Linked DNA regions of Homo sapiens: all the other regions are linked to region 1. Evidence: promoter capture Hi-C in 16 types of primary human blood cells and fetal thymus (Javierre and others, 2016). All regions are on one chromosome and are shown on one strand. Each heading gives the region's core, a stretch centred on a gene start or on the middle of the fragment in contact. The rest is flanking DNA. Distances are from core to core; before and after follow the strand shown.

Region 1 (4,467 bases), core at 774-3,273:
TTTTGTGTTTTCTTTTCTCCTTTTTGGGGGGTATTCAGAGTGGGCTGGGCCCCTGGGCGAGACACAGCTACCTCTGTTGGCATCTTTTTAATACCAGGAACCCAGCGGCTCTAGCCACTGAGCGGCTAAATGAAATAAAGTGGAAAAAAAAAAAAAGGAAAAAACCAAAAGCATAAAAAACCACAGCAAATTTCTTGATGAAAATTGAAAATAAAAGTTTCCTTGTATTTTAGTGCTCTGGTTCAGTGTGGGTGTAGGTGCAGGTGGATGAGTGTGTGCGGCAGGAGCCTGGCACCTGTATAGTTGAAAATTAAGGGCTACGTGGTGTCCTGATACCCCACTGAGTAACTGGGTTCTGTGTGTGGGTGCAGTATGTGCCTTGCCAACGTTGACTTCCACCTGTGGAAAATGAGAGGCTGCAAAACTGCGGGCACCGCCGCTTAATGGCTCTGTGACCTTGAGCAAGTTGTTTAACTTTGGTGGGATGCAGATATCTCATGTATACCTCATACGGTTGTCAAGTTAAACCAGTGAAGTACATGGAACGGTTTTAACACCTAACCACTACCTTAATGTTAGTTTCTAGGAAGGCTGAGGGGGGTTTTCTTGCTAAGTTGTGCAAAATTGGGATGCAATTTGTGGAAGAACACAGCCTCAATCCCACACCCCCGGAGGCCCGACCTAACGTCCTCCAACCTTGAAACCCTTGTAGTTCACCCCTTCTCATGTCCCAGACCAGGTCAGCCTTGCAACCCGTTGTTTCCCAACTAATTGTAGACCCACCTGAAAGCGAGTTCCGGCGAAGAGGCCCCCTGCGAATGAGGTGCAGTGCAGCACCTTAATTGAGGGGCTGAGCAGGGGTCAGCATCAAGGAAGGTGCTGGGAGGGCGGGGCACGGTGGCTCACAGCCTGTAATCTCAGCACAAAGGTGGGGGCAGGAGGATCGCTTAAGCCCAGGAGTTCTAGACCAGCCCTGGCAATATAGTGAGACGCCACCCCCTACAACCCGTCTCTATAAAAAGATTTTTAAAAAAGGGGCAAAGAGGAGGAGGTAAGTGGCATGGAATTCCACGGTTTTTTTTGTTTGTTTGTTTTGAGATGGAGTCTCGCTTTGTTGCCAGGCTGGAGTACAGTGGCGCGATCTCAGCTCACTGCAACCTCCCCCTCCCGGGTTCAAGCGATTCTCCTGCCTCAGCCTCCCGAGTAGCTGGGACTACACGCGTGCGCCAGCCACCATGCCCAACTAATTTTTGTATTTTTAATAGAGACAAGGTTGGCCAAGATGGTCTCGGATTTCTTGACCTCGTGATCCGCCCGCCTCGACCTCCCAAAGTGCTGGGATTACAGGCGTGAGCCACCGAGCCCGGCTGGTTTTTTTGTTTTTTTTTTTTGAGGTGGAGTTTCGCTCTTGGTGAGGCTTAAGTGGCACGATCTCGGCTTACTGCAACCTCCGCCTCCCGGGCTCAAGCAATTCTGCCTCAGCCTCTCGAGTAGCTGGGATTATAGGCGCCCGCCACCACGCCCGGCTAATTTTGTATTTTTAGTAGAAGCAGGGTTTCACCATATTGGCCAGGCTGGTCTCGAACTCCTGACCTCAAGTGATCCACCCACCTCAGCCTCCCAAAGTGCTGGGATTACAGGCGTGAGCCACTGCGCCCAGCCTGGAATTCCGTGATCTTGACGCTGGACTAGGGCAGTGGATGCGAGGGAGAGGGCTCCAATGTCGGGCCCTGGTTCGAGGAGAAGGTGCGGCTTTCACCCAACAGAAACCGGCCGTGAGGCTAAAAGCCAACTCCATGAGGGAAGGTCGGTCAAGCTCAATGGTTTCGTCACATTGCTCCCTCCACCCGCCGCGGGTGTAAGCTGCGCGTCTCCTTCGAATTGCCCCCTACTCGCCGCCGCCGGCTCCGCTGGCGTTCCCAGGGCGAGCGTAAGTTCCGGGTGCGGCGGCCGACTAGGCGCAACAGGAAGAGGCGGGGCCGCGAGGCTAGCGCTACCCGTGCGCCTGCGTGGAACGATTCTGTGGCGAGTGCCGGCCGAAAGCTAGGTCCGGATTGCACGTGGAGGGCCGCCCGAAGGGCACTCTCGGACATTAACCCGCATTCTGGTGGGTCTAGAGGAAATTGGGGGACGAAGAGTGGCAGCACTGACCTGGTCTGGGACGTGGGGAGAAGGGTGCGCTACCTGGGTTTCAGGTGGGAGGGCGTTCGGTCGGGCCTCCAGGGGGATAGCGGGGGTGCTTGAGTCGCGGGTGCTGAGTCGGGAGTGCTGAGTGAGTTGCGGGTGCTGAGTTGAGGCTGTGCCCTTTCCCACTATAATACGCCAAGCGTGCGTTCTGCCGTTCCCTCCGACACGCGCGACGCCACCTTCTCCCATTTCTGCCTGCCACAGTACCATGGGGCGCAAGTTGGACCCTACGAAGGAGAAGCGGGGGCCAGGCCGAAAGGCCCGGAAGCAGAAGGGTGCCGAGACAGAACTCGTCAGATTCTTGCCTGCAGGTAAGGATTAGTTGTGGCCTCCTGATCCCTCAGCTTTTGCAGTATTCTGTATTATAACCTCTTCTCTTTTTTAGTTTCTGTTCATTTTATATTTAAGTGGAATCTTCTCTGTATGAGTTACTAGGAGGTATGAATGAAACAGCCGTTTAGATTGTAGGGAACTGTTTAGGTCGTAGAGATGTGAAGACACGGACACAACTATTATTCATGCAAGGGAAAAGTGTGATTTAAAACAATTGTGAGTTCAGAGGAAGGGGGAGCCCATGCAGAACTGTAAAAGTTTTTGTTAAGCTGGGTTTTGAAAAATGGGTAACATTGTAGCAAGAGGAAGTAGTGAAGGGGAGGGGTCAGTCACTGATTTGCCTTTTGGAAGGGGTGGAAATGGAAAAGCACGGATCTGGCTGCTTCATGCCGAGTAGTAGTATACTGTGTGGAAGACTGGTGGGAGGTAACACTGGACCGGGAGTTTGTGTTGGGCATTGGATAAAGGATGCAGTTTATTGAGATAGTAGGAAGTCCTGGGCACTGTATTAAACTTGTTGGTCATGTTATATCGCTTAATCATCTTAGAGTCCTGTGAGAGAGGCACTATTAAGGAAACACTTTGGGAGGCCGAGGCAGGTGGATCACCTGAGGTCCAGTGTTCGAGACCAGCCTGGCCAACATGGTGAAACCCTGTCTTTACTAAAAATACAACAATTAGCTGGGTGTGGTGATGGGAGGCTGAGGCAATAGAATCGCTTGAATCTGGGAGAAGGAGGTTGCAGTGAGTTGAGATCACGCCATTGCACTCCAGCCTGGAAGACAAGAGTGAAACTCCATTTCAAAAAAAAAAAAGAAACTTGTATACAGTTATTAAATAATAACAGGGCTGAGATTTAAATGGACTCCTTTTAATTAGTGTACTAATTCTCTTACCATGTTTATTTCCGTTCCCATTTATTTTTAATGTCCCCTGTAACTTGTTCTGCCTCGTTTTTCTTTTTTAAACAGTAAGTGACGAAAATTCCAAGAGGCTGTCTAGTCGTGCTCGAAAGAGGTAAGTGTGGGTGTCAAAACTTAAGTAGGTTAAATTGGTACTGCTCATCTTTGACCACAGAGTTAATTCTAGACTCTCACATTTCCCTATGGTGGAAATGGCAGAGCCTGGAAGTATCTTCCCATTTCTTCACTCCTTGAATCTCTTGTGTCTTTTCAGGGCAGCCAAGAGGAGATTGGGCTCTGTTGAAGCCCCTAAGACAAATAAGTCTCCTGAGGCCAAACCATTGCCTGGAAAGCTACCAAAAGGTCCGTGAAACTAAGAGCTGGATGCTACATGAGGAGTCCCTTTGGGTCCTGGGTAGGGAAGAACTCGCTAAACATTTCCGGAGTGAAAGGAACAGCCAAAGGACATTCTGAGGGGTAGAAAGTACAGGCTCCCAGGGTGTGGGGCCAGGGAATGTGTGGCTGCCATTAGTCCAGGACTCTTCAAACCCTTAGGGATCTCTGCAGGAGCTGTCCAGACAGCTGGTAAGAAGGGACCCCAGTCCCTATTTAATGCTCCTCGAGGCAAGAAGCGCCCAGCACCTGGCAGTGATGAGGAAGAGGAGGAGGAAGACTCTGAAGAAGATGGTATGGTGAACCACGGGGACCTCTGGGGCTCCGAGGACGATGCTGATACGGTAGATGACTATGGAGCTGACTCCAACTCTGAGGATGAGGAGGAAGGTGAAGCGGTGAGATTCATCTTTTTGGGCATTCATAGAAGGATCCTTGCTATTTAGTTTCTTTCCCAGATTCTTGAGACTGTTTCTTAGTGGCAAGGATAAGCCTGACTAGAGGAAAGGGGTTTTTGTGCTCCATCACTGTTTCCCTACTGCCTTATATCCTCCCAGTGCACTACAAGTTTGAAAGAGCTGTAGGATAGAGCATTTAAAAAAATCTAGAAGGCTGTCTTGGTGTAGGTATGGGAAGGTGGACAATGGTGTGC
Region 2 (4,467 bases), core at 570-3,069, 48 kb after region 1:
GCCGAGAACCCCTGCCTTTTAAAGGAGCAGATAGATATATCAATAAAATATGGAAAAGAACTCCAAGATCCATGGCCGGGTGCAGTGGCTCACACCTGTAATACCAGCACTTTGGGAGGCTGACGCAGAAGAATTGCCTGAGCCCAGGAGTTGGAGACCAGCCTGAGCAACAAAGGAAGGCCCCATCTCTATTGTTAATAAAAATTTAAAAAATTAAAAAATCCAAAAGAACCCCAAGGCTGTCCTTATAGAAAGGGACTCTGGCATACCTGTAGTTGTGTTTTCATACATCATCTTGCTGATGATGCCAATGGCCTCTGTAATCTTCCGGGAGAAGCTGTAGGCATCCTGCAGATACTGTACCAGCATCTCCTGCTTCACTAGTTCATCATTTCCCCTGGATTCCTCAGGATCCGACATATTGGGTTTATTTTTACAGACAGTCTGTCCTGTGACCATGTTTCCTGTAGACTCCCGGGGATTCTTTTCTTGTGTGGAAGCTGCTGGGCCTAAGGAGTTAGAGAAGTACAGGATGGTTTCGTTCAAGGGGATACAGGGGAATCCAACAGCTGTCAACATTCCTGGATATTTACTTATTTATTTTCCTTCTTCTTTTCTTTTGAGATGGGGTCTCACTCTGTTGCCTAGGCTGTGCAGTGGCAATGATCACCGCTCACTGCAGCCTCAACTTCCCCGGGCTAAGGTGATTCTCTCACTTCAGCTCCTGAGCAGTTGGGACTACAGGTGCGTGCCACCGCACCTGGCTAATTTTTTTTTGGTATCCCTTGTAGAGATGGGGGTTTCGTCATGTTGCTCAGGCTGATTTTCAACTCCTGGGCTCAAGCAATCCTCCTGCCTTGGCCTCCCAAAGTGTTAGGATTACAGGCATAAGCCACGACATCTGGCCCTGGATATCTCTTTTCACAATGTGAAGATATGAAATTAAAACTTACTCTAAAATATCTAAATTTCTCAAAAACCATACCTAAAGACCGCTATGGTCTGGACAGTCACCCTGTGACTATCAATCTTAGGCCCGTGGGCTGCTTCCATTCCAGAGCAAAAGTAATGCCAATTCATCTCTGGGCTCTTCAGCACCAGGTTCTGTTAACCAGGCCAATGATGGCATAAAGTTAATGCTCAGTAAATACCAGTTGACATGTGTTATTTATTGACTGAAGAAGGAAAATGATTACCTTTGAAGATAAGTCCTAAGATATTCAAGAGCCTGGTCTCCTCTGACTCCTCTGGGTCTATATGACTGAAGGGTTCGGACTCCTGGAAGTGGCCTGTGGCTTCTCGAGTGAGAATGATGGCCTTTCTGAAAGAACACCAGCCTGTCAGTACCCAGAAGAATGTCACTGCAGCCGTTTGTAAGGGAGCTTACCTCATGATTCTATCAAGTCCCTGGACCTACTGCCCAGAGAAAAGGAGCACTTAACATGCTTAAAAAGTTGTTACAGCACCTACTAAGGGGTAGGGCTCAAAACACTTTGCCTATTTTTTTCCCCTGACTGCTCATCTGCAAACACTTTTCCTATTTCTGAACCTACAAGGCATTACTACAGTCTTCAAAAAAACTCCAATAAGGCTTTTTAAAGTTTTAAAATCATAAACCTACTCCAAACACCTGTTTAAAAACTTTCCTAAGTTTAGAAACAATAAACTTTCAATAATTAGTTAATTCAGGCACATCCAGACAATAAGATTCTATGTAGTCATAAAAAATAATGGGGACACGTGAGCCCAGGAATTTGAGATCAGTCTGGGCAACACAGGGAGACCCAACTATACAAAAAGTAAAAAAAGTTAGCCGGGTGTGATGGTGTGTGCCTGTGGGTGTGATGGTGTATGCCTGTGGGTGTGATGGTGTGTGCCTGTGGGTGTGATGGTGTGTGCCTGTGGGTGTAATGGTGTGTGCCTGTGGTCTCAGCTACTCGAGGGAGCTGAGGTGGGAGGATCACTTGAGCCTGGGAGATCAAAGCTGCAGTGAGTTGTGATCATACCACTGTACTCCAGCATGGGCAAAAGAGTGAGACACTCTCTCTCTCAAAAAAAGAGGAGAGTGGGAAACTATTTATGTATAAATATATATGTGTATATATATATATATATTTTTTTTTTTAGAGACAGAGTCTTGTTCTGTCACCCAGGCTGAAGTGTAGTGGCATGATCTTGGCTCACTATAACCTCTGCTTCCTAGGTTTGAGTGATTCTCATGCCTCAGCTCCCCAAATAGCTAGGATTACAGGTACGTGCCACCATACCTGGCCAATTTTTGTAATTTTAGCAGAGATGGGTTTCGCCATTTCGCCACGTTGGCCAGGCTGGCCTCAAACTCCTGGCCTCAAGAGATCCACCAGCTTTGGGCTCCCAAGGTGCTGGGATTACAGGTGTGAGCCACTGCACCTGGCCATCTATAAATTTTTTTTTTTTTTTGAGATGGACTCTTCCTCTGTCACCCAGGGTAGAGTGTAGCGGAGCAATCTCAGCTCACTGCAACCTCTGCTTCCTGGGTTCAAGCAATTCTCCTGCCTCAGCCTCCCAAGTAGCTGGGATTACAGGCATGAGCCATTGCACCCAGCCATAAATATTTTTAAAAACCACTGAGACACATAGTTAAGTGAAAAAAACAAGATGGTAGATCAGTGGGCAGAGAATTCTATCAGTCATATAAAAGGGGGAAAAAAAGAATACATGTTTGACTGCTTGTCTACATGTTATCTTCTTGCCACGTTGCCCAGGCTGGCAAAGGCCAGGCCTGGTGGTGTGTACCTGTAATCCCAGCTACAAATTATAAATAAATTAACCAGGCTACTCAGGAGGCTAATGTGGGAGATCGCTTGAGCCCAGCAGGGTTGAGGCTACAGTGAGAGGCTGCAGTGAGCTGTGATTGCGCTACTGTACTCCAGCCTGGGCAACAGTGAGATTCTGTCTCAAAAACAAACAATCCTTTTCTAATTGACAGGAGAAAATACTAGAATGCTTGGTGGAACATGCACTTATAAAACTATAGTCTCTATTTTTGCTTTAGCAAAATAAAAAGAGAGACACTAAAGTAACATAAGGGAGTCATAGGGCAAACAAGCCACTCTCTAGCCTTCTAAAAACAGCCCAAGCCGGGCACGGTGGCTCAAGCCTGTAATCCCAGCACTTTGGGAGGCCGAGGCAGGCGGATCACGAGGTCAGGAGATTGAGACCATCCTGGCTAACACGGTGAAACCCCGTCTCTACTAAAAATATAAAAAAAAAAATTAGCCGGGCGTGGTGGCGGGCGCCTGTAGTCCCAGCTACTCGGGAGGCTGAGGCAGGAGAATGGCGTGAACCCAGGAGGTGGAGGTTGCAGTGAGCCAAGATCGCACCACTGCACTCCAGCCTGGGCAACAGAGCAAGACTCCGTCTCCAAAAAAAAAATTCAGCCCAATTAGGTAAGAAGTAAATAAATAACAAATAACTTGTGGCTGAGGTTTAAGAATACTTGTTGGCAGCCGAGTGCGGTGGCTCACGCCTGTAATCATGGCACTTTGGGAGGCTGAGATGGGTGGATCACCTGAGGTCAGGAGTTCAAGACCAGCCTGGCCAATATGGTGAAACCCTGTCTCTACTAAAAATAAAAAAATTAGTGCGGTGTGGTGGTGCGCGCCTGTGGTCCCAGCTACTTGGGAGGCTGAGGCACGAGAATTGCTTGAACCTGGGAGGCAGAGGTTGCAGTGAGCCAAGATCGTGTCACTGTACTGCAGCCTGGGCAACAGAGTGAGTGAGACTCCATCTCAAAAAAAAAAAAAAAAAAAAAAAAAAAAAACTTGTTGACGGCTGTAAGGGCTTTTGTTGTTAAGTTCTAGAGTCACAAAAACACTAGGAGAAATCTTTTCTCTAAGATCAGGATTCATACTAGGTTTGAAGATTAAGGTAGTATTAAGCATGTTTGATATTATTAGTTCATGAAATTTAGAATTAGAAAGTCCTTAGAGATCATAAGATCTAATCAATTTCTTATTTTATAGATAATGAAACCGAGGCACAGAAAGTTAAGCAACTTATTCAAGATCATACAACTAGAACTTATTTATAGGTGCTCTTCTTCAATTGAAGGAGGACTCATGTTTGATTATAATACTGTTAACATTTAATTGTTTCAGTAGTTTTTTTAAACATTTATAAAGTAGAAACACATGCTTAATTGTGGACTAGGCCTATGGTCAGACCATTACTACATGAAAACATCTACCATCACCTGGTGGCAGCATATCTGTGTGCAGTTAATTTAAAAGACACATTATGTAAGTTTCTCAAAGGTTAACTCTAAACATAAACAGATCACGAAGAATATCCCATTCTTTTGCCTACTTGTAACTAGCTTTGGCAAGCAGTTGATAGATGCGTCCTTTCACATCTTCAGTTGTCTCTGTATTGGCAATTTGCTCAGGAATCTCCTCCTCTCCCTGGGGAAGCTGTAGAAGCTGCTGC
Region 3 (4,467 bases), core at 1,326-3,825, 33 kb before region 1:
TTACAGGCACCCACCACCATGCCTGGCTAATTTTTGTTTTTTTAGTAGAGACAGGGTTTCACCATGTTGGCCAAGCTGGTTTCGAACTGACCTCAAATGATCTGCCCGCCTCAGCCTCCCAGAGTGCTGCGATTACAGGCATGAGCCATTGCACCCGATTGGGATATTCTCTTCTACCACTGTCTAGGTCCTGCTCTGTTTTTTTGTGCAGACATTCCCATATGTTGGATAGGAATCTGGGTGGGAGTGGTGAGGAAGCTGAGCTTCAGAGACTTCTTGTGGGCCTCCATTCCTCAAACTAAATCTTTTGGGTATCAGAAATTTGGGGAGAAGGTTGTATGCGCTGACCACAAGTCCACTGAGCCTTTGTTAAATCTCAGCTCTGATGATTGAAAAAATAATTATGATTGAGGGAGTGATCGAGTTCTTCTCTTAGTATTACCTTCATGTTTGTCTCGCTTTCCTTGGGTTTCCTTGCTTAGGATGTTAGGGTGGGCTCTTGTGAACTGTTGTCATCCCAGAGTAGGTGGCATTTGGACCTGGGGCCAGGTAATTTGGGGAGGCTTCTATGAGGGCAGTCTCCCCCCCCGCCACCCCACCTCTCTCAAACCCACCCCCTCCCCTGCCACTTCCTGTCTGTCCTATGTTGGCAGCTGGGTGCCCTGGGCTGGCTTCTGCGGTCAGGAGCCATTTTCCCTCTCCTCAGTGGGTGAGGCACTCCCTTCTTCTCTCCACTCCTTTCTCTACCCACCCCCCTTTGGGCGGGGGTGGCTTGGGAAGAGGGAGAGAGGAGGGAGGAGGGAGTCGGAGCCAGTGTGAATGTCTGTTACAAAGGAAGCTGCCTCCTGGTCTTCTCTGTGTCCCTTCCCACCTATCCTTGCCCAGGAGCTTTCAGTCTTACCCAGGCTTTGTGTGTGCCTCCAGCCAGGGGAGGAGGTGGAGCCAGATGGGAGGAGGCTTGCTGGGGGGCGGGTGTAGGGGAGATGGTGACAGCTGGGCTGATTCGGGCCCCTAGGGAGAAGAGGCTGCTGACCCAGGAGAAGCTGAGGAGGAACATTAGGGTTGGAGATGGGGAAAGGAAATTGTATTTTAGAAGTGGGCATGAGATTGAGCTGGCACCTGAACCTAGGACTTGGAGGTTCTGGTTAATTTGAGCAGTGATGACTTCAAAGTGGTTAGAGAAGGGTGTGGTTTCCGAGACCCCTGAACTGATCCTGTTCTGGGAAGGTATATTCTATAGTTTTTGCCTTCTGAGTAGGATCTTTCATTCTCATTCCCTGGTTTATAGAATAACTTGGTGGCCAGTTACAGGAGGCCTAAATCTAGTTCTCTTACTTGGTGAACTCTGAGCAGCTCAGTTCAGCTGTACTGGTGAACATCTAGAGGACTGGTAGGAACGGGAGAGAGGAGGCAGGGGTCTGGACAGCTGCCCGAGGTGGGCCTGGTCTGGCCTGGCAGGCCTATTTCGGGTATATACAGCTCTCTCTTTGTCTGTTTTTGTCCTGGGTATCAGCTTCCTCCTGTACAGAGTATAGCAGTTCTCTTCAGAGGAATCTGGGACAAGAGGTGGGGAATAAAGTCTAAAGCCTCTGGATTAGGGCCTAACCTTTTGCTATTGATCTTTTCCCTGCCTACCACTCTTTGCCAAATATATGTAGAAAATGAAGAGGACCCAGAAGAGGATTTGTCAGAAACAGAGACTCCAAAGCTCAAGAAGAAGAAAAAGCCTAAGAAACCTCGGGACCCTAAAATCCCTAAGAGCAAGCGCCAAAAAAAGGAGGTGAGTGGGTGACTGAATGTTACGGGGAATCAGAGGAAGAAGGGAGGAGCTCTGAGAAGGGTTGAAGGGCTGAGGGCATTTGTTTCTTTCTCAGAAGTGGTGGGCCATGTTCTGGGGATGAGCCTCAGGGCTGTCCTGAGGTCAGCATGTGTGTAGCATGTGTGTGTCTGTCTCCCTCTTCCCCCCTTGCCCTGCTCCAGCGTATGCTCTTATGCCGGCAGCTGGGGGACAGCTCTGGGGAGGGGCCAGAGTTTGTGGAGGAGGAGGAAGAGGTGGCTCTGCGCTCAGACAGTGAGGGCAGCGACTATACTCCTGGCAAGAAGAAGAAGAAGAAGCTTGGACCTAAGAAAGAGAAGAAGAGCAAATCCAAGCGGAAGGAGGAGGAGGAGGAGGAGGATGATGATGATGATTCAAAGGTGCCTGGACCTCCATCCTCTTCTTTGTACTGTTAAACTTTTGTCTTTTTGTTTCCTAGACACCTTACTGCCCTTTAGAACACTTTCTCTTCTTTTCCTCTTAACTCTGTTACTCTGATTTTTCCACACAAATTTGCTTAGCAAGTGTGGGCACTAGGTGGCAGGTACTTACTTGACTTTGCTCTTTCTGCAGGAGCCTAAATCATCTGCTCAGCTCCTGGAAGACTGGGGCATGGAAGACATTGACCACGTGTTCTCAGAGGAGGATTATCGAACCCTCACCAACTACAAGGCCTTCAGCCAGTTTGTCAGGTAAAACAGAAGGGGTTTGGGGAAGGGGGAGGAGAATCTTTCTGTTCTCTCTTCTTACTTCTCTTTCTTTTTTTATTCTTAAACCTTTCCCTCTGCTCTTGTGCATTTCTCCACCAGACCCCTCATTGCTGCCAAAAATCCCAAGATTGCTGTCTCCAAGATGATGATGGTTTTGGGTGCAAAATGGCGGGAGTTCAGTACCAATAACCCCTTCAAAGGCAGTTCTGGGGCATCAGTGGCAGCTGCGGCAGCAGCAGCGGTAGCTGTGGTGGAGAGCATGGTGACAGCCACTGAGGTTGCACCACCACCTCCCCCTGTGGAGGTGCCTATCCGCAAGGCCAAGACCAAGGAGGGCAAAGGTGAAATGGGGTTCAAATGGGAGTGGGGGTGTCTAGTGTGGGCTTAAGATGTCAAAGACAGCATGGGAATGCTGGTCTGTCAGCCCTAAGGTAGGAGATAGGAGGGAGGAATGAGTCTTGGATTTTGGAGGGAAATTTGGGAATCTGAATGTGGGGAAGCAAGCTTAGGTGGAGAAGATTTTATTTTCCCCATCTTTGGTCTTGTGGTATATATTTGGATATATCCTGATTTTAGGTCCCAATGCTCGGAGGAAGCCCAAGGGCAGCCCTCGTGTACCTGATGCCAAGAAGCCTAAACCCAAGAAAGTAGCTCCCCTGAAAATCAAGCTGGGAGGTTTTGGTTCCAAGCGTAAGAGATCCTCGGTGAGAGCCCAGCCCATCGCTTTAGGGAGGGTGCCATGTCTAATAGAAAGGATGTGACCTTCTATCAGAACCTGTCCTTCATAGTAGGCACGTAAGAATGTGGGGCGTTTCCCACAGAACAAGATGAGACTAGGCTCCCTGTATAACGGTGCTTGCTGGGATTCTGGTGTCCCCAGTGAGAGAGTACTCCCCTCTCTGCCACTCTGTCCTTCCCCTTGGCTTGAACGTCTAACCTTATTCTTTTTCATCCTGCCAGAGTGAGGATGATGACTTAGATGTGGAATCTGACTTCGATGATGCCAGTATCAATAGCTATTCTGTTTCTGATGGTTCCACCAGCCGTAGTAGCCGCAGCCGCAAGAAACTCCGAACCACTAAAAAGAAAAAGAAAGGTGTGTTTCTCTTCTGTATATTTGTGATGGGATGAGGTGGGAGTGATTGGGGAAGAATCTCCCTAAGGAGATAGGGGTCGGGGGGTGGGGGGAGGTAGTTTTTTTCCAATAACTGGGCTTTCCCTCTTCCTTGCCCAGGCGAGGAGGAGGTGACTGCTGTGGATGGTTATGAGACAGACCACCAGGACTATTGCGAGGTGTGCCAGCAAGGCGGTGAGATCATCCTGTGTGATACCTGTCCCCGTGCTTACCACATGGTCTGCCTGGATCCCGACATGGAGAAGGCTCCCGAGGGCAAGTGGAGCTGCCCACACTGCGTGAGTGTCTGGCCATTGTGGCCCCTTGGAACCCATGAGAAGAAGGGTGGGACAGTAAAGCTCTTCGGGGCCTGGATGGAAATGGAAATGCTGGTGCTGCGGGTTGTGAGCTTTGGGAAGCATTCAAAGGAATGATGGGCACTGGCTTCAGACTGCGGTGGGCGGGTGGGGGTAATAATCTGAATCTGTGGTCCTTTACTGCAGGAGAAGGAAGGCATCCAGTGGGAAGCTAAAGAGGACAATTCGGAGGGTGAGGAGATCCTGGAAGAGGTTGGGGGAGACCTCGAAGAGGAGGATGACCACCATATGGAATTCTGTCGGGTCTGCAAGGATGGTGGGGAACTGCTCTGCTGTGATACCTGTCCTTCTTCCTACCACATCCACTGCCTGAATCCCCCACTTCCAGAGATCCCCAACGGTGAATGGCTCTGTCCCCGTTGTACGGTGAGTGACTGATCTCAGCCGGGGCAAAAAATGGGAAAGTGTAGTCTTTTCTATGTAGGCTATTGTGAGGCTGGGGTGCAGGAG

What was found. The method cuts DNA at HindIII sites, captures the fragments that hold promoters and counts their contacts. A CHiCAGO score of 5 or more calls a contact.
Region 2: a contact is called between a fragment that was not itself captured here and the fragment with the promoter of NOP2 in region 1, in 7 of 17 cell types (erythroblasts, activated CD4 T cells, non-activated CD4 T cells and 4 more). The highest score is 9.9, in erythroblasts.
Region 3: a fragment that was not itself captured here is called in contact with the fragment with the promoter of NOP2 in region 1 in 16 of 17 cell types (activated CD4 T cells, erythroblasts, megakaryocytes and 13 more); the score reaches 26.5 in activated CD4 T cells.

Annotation. Positions count from the first base shown.
Region 1 is chr12:6,565,847-6,570,313 of GRCh38, reverse strand. NOP2 (NOP2 nucleolar protein) reads left to right here and starts at 2,023. Exons shown (of 16, transcript NM_001258308.2): 1 at 2,023-2,107; 2 at 2,392-2,498; 3 at 3,492-3,537; 4 at 3,697-3,785; 5 at 3,978-4,213. The coding sequence starts at 2,396. CHD4-AS1 (CHD4 antisense RNA 1) reads right to left here and starts at 1,943. Exons shown (of 3, transcript NR_199067.1): 1 at 784-1,943. CHD4 (chromodomain helicase DNA binding protein 4) reads left to right here. Exons shown (of 40, transcript NM_001273.5): 40 at 1-232. RefSeq lists enhancers at 1-11, 1,679-1,728, 1,552-2,173. The HindIII fragment of the contact is 18,468 bases long and covers 1-4,467 here.
Region 2 is chr12:6,517,840-6,522,306 of GRCh38, reverse strand. It overlaps NCAPD2 (non-SMC condensin I complex subunit D2), which reads right to left. Exons shown (of 32, transcript NM_014865.4): 13 at 4,348-4,467; 14 at 1,197-1,321; 15 at 270-509. Among named protein-coding and RNA genes, the nearest start is that of GAPDH-DT, 14 kb to the left of the region's middle. The HindIII fragment of the contact is 7,418 bases long and covers 1-4,467 here.
Region 3 is chr12:6,599,689-6,604,155 of GRCh38, reverse strand. It overlaps CHD4 (chromodomain helicase DNA binding protein 4), which reads left to right. Exons shown (of 40, transcript NM_001273.5): 3 at 1,659-1,780; 4 at 1,981-2,196; 5 at 2,390-2,508; 6 at 2,626-2,867; 7 at 3,103-3,230; 8 at 3,487-3,622; 9 at 3,761-3,939; 10 at 4,144-4,383. Among named protein-coding and RNA genes, the nearest start is that of CHD4, 5.5 kb to the left of the region's middle. The HindIII fragment of the contact is 915 bases long and covers 2,118-3,032 here.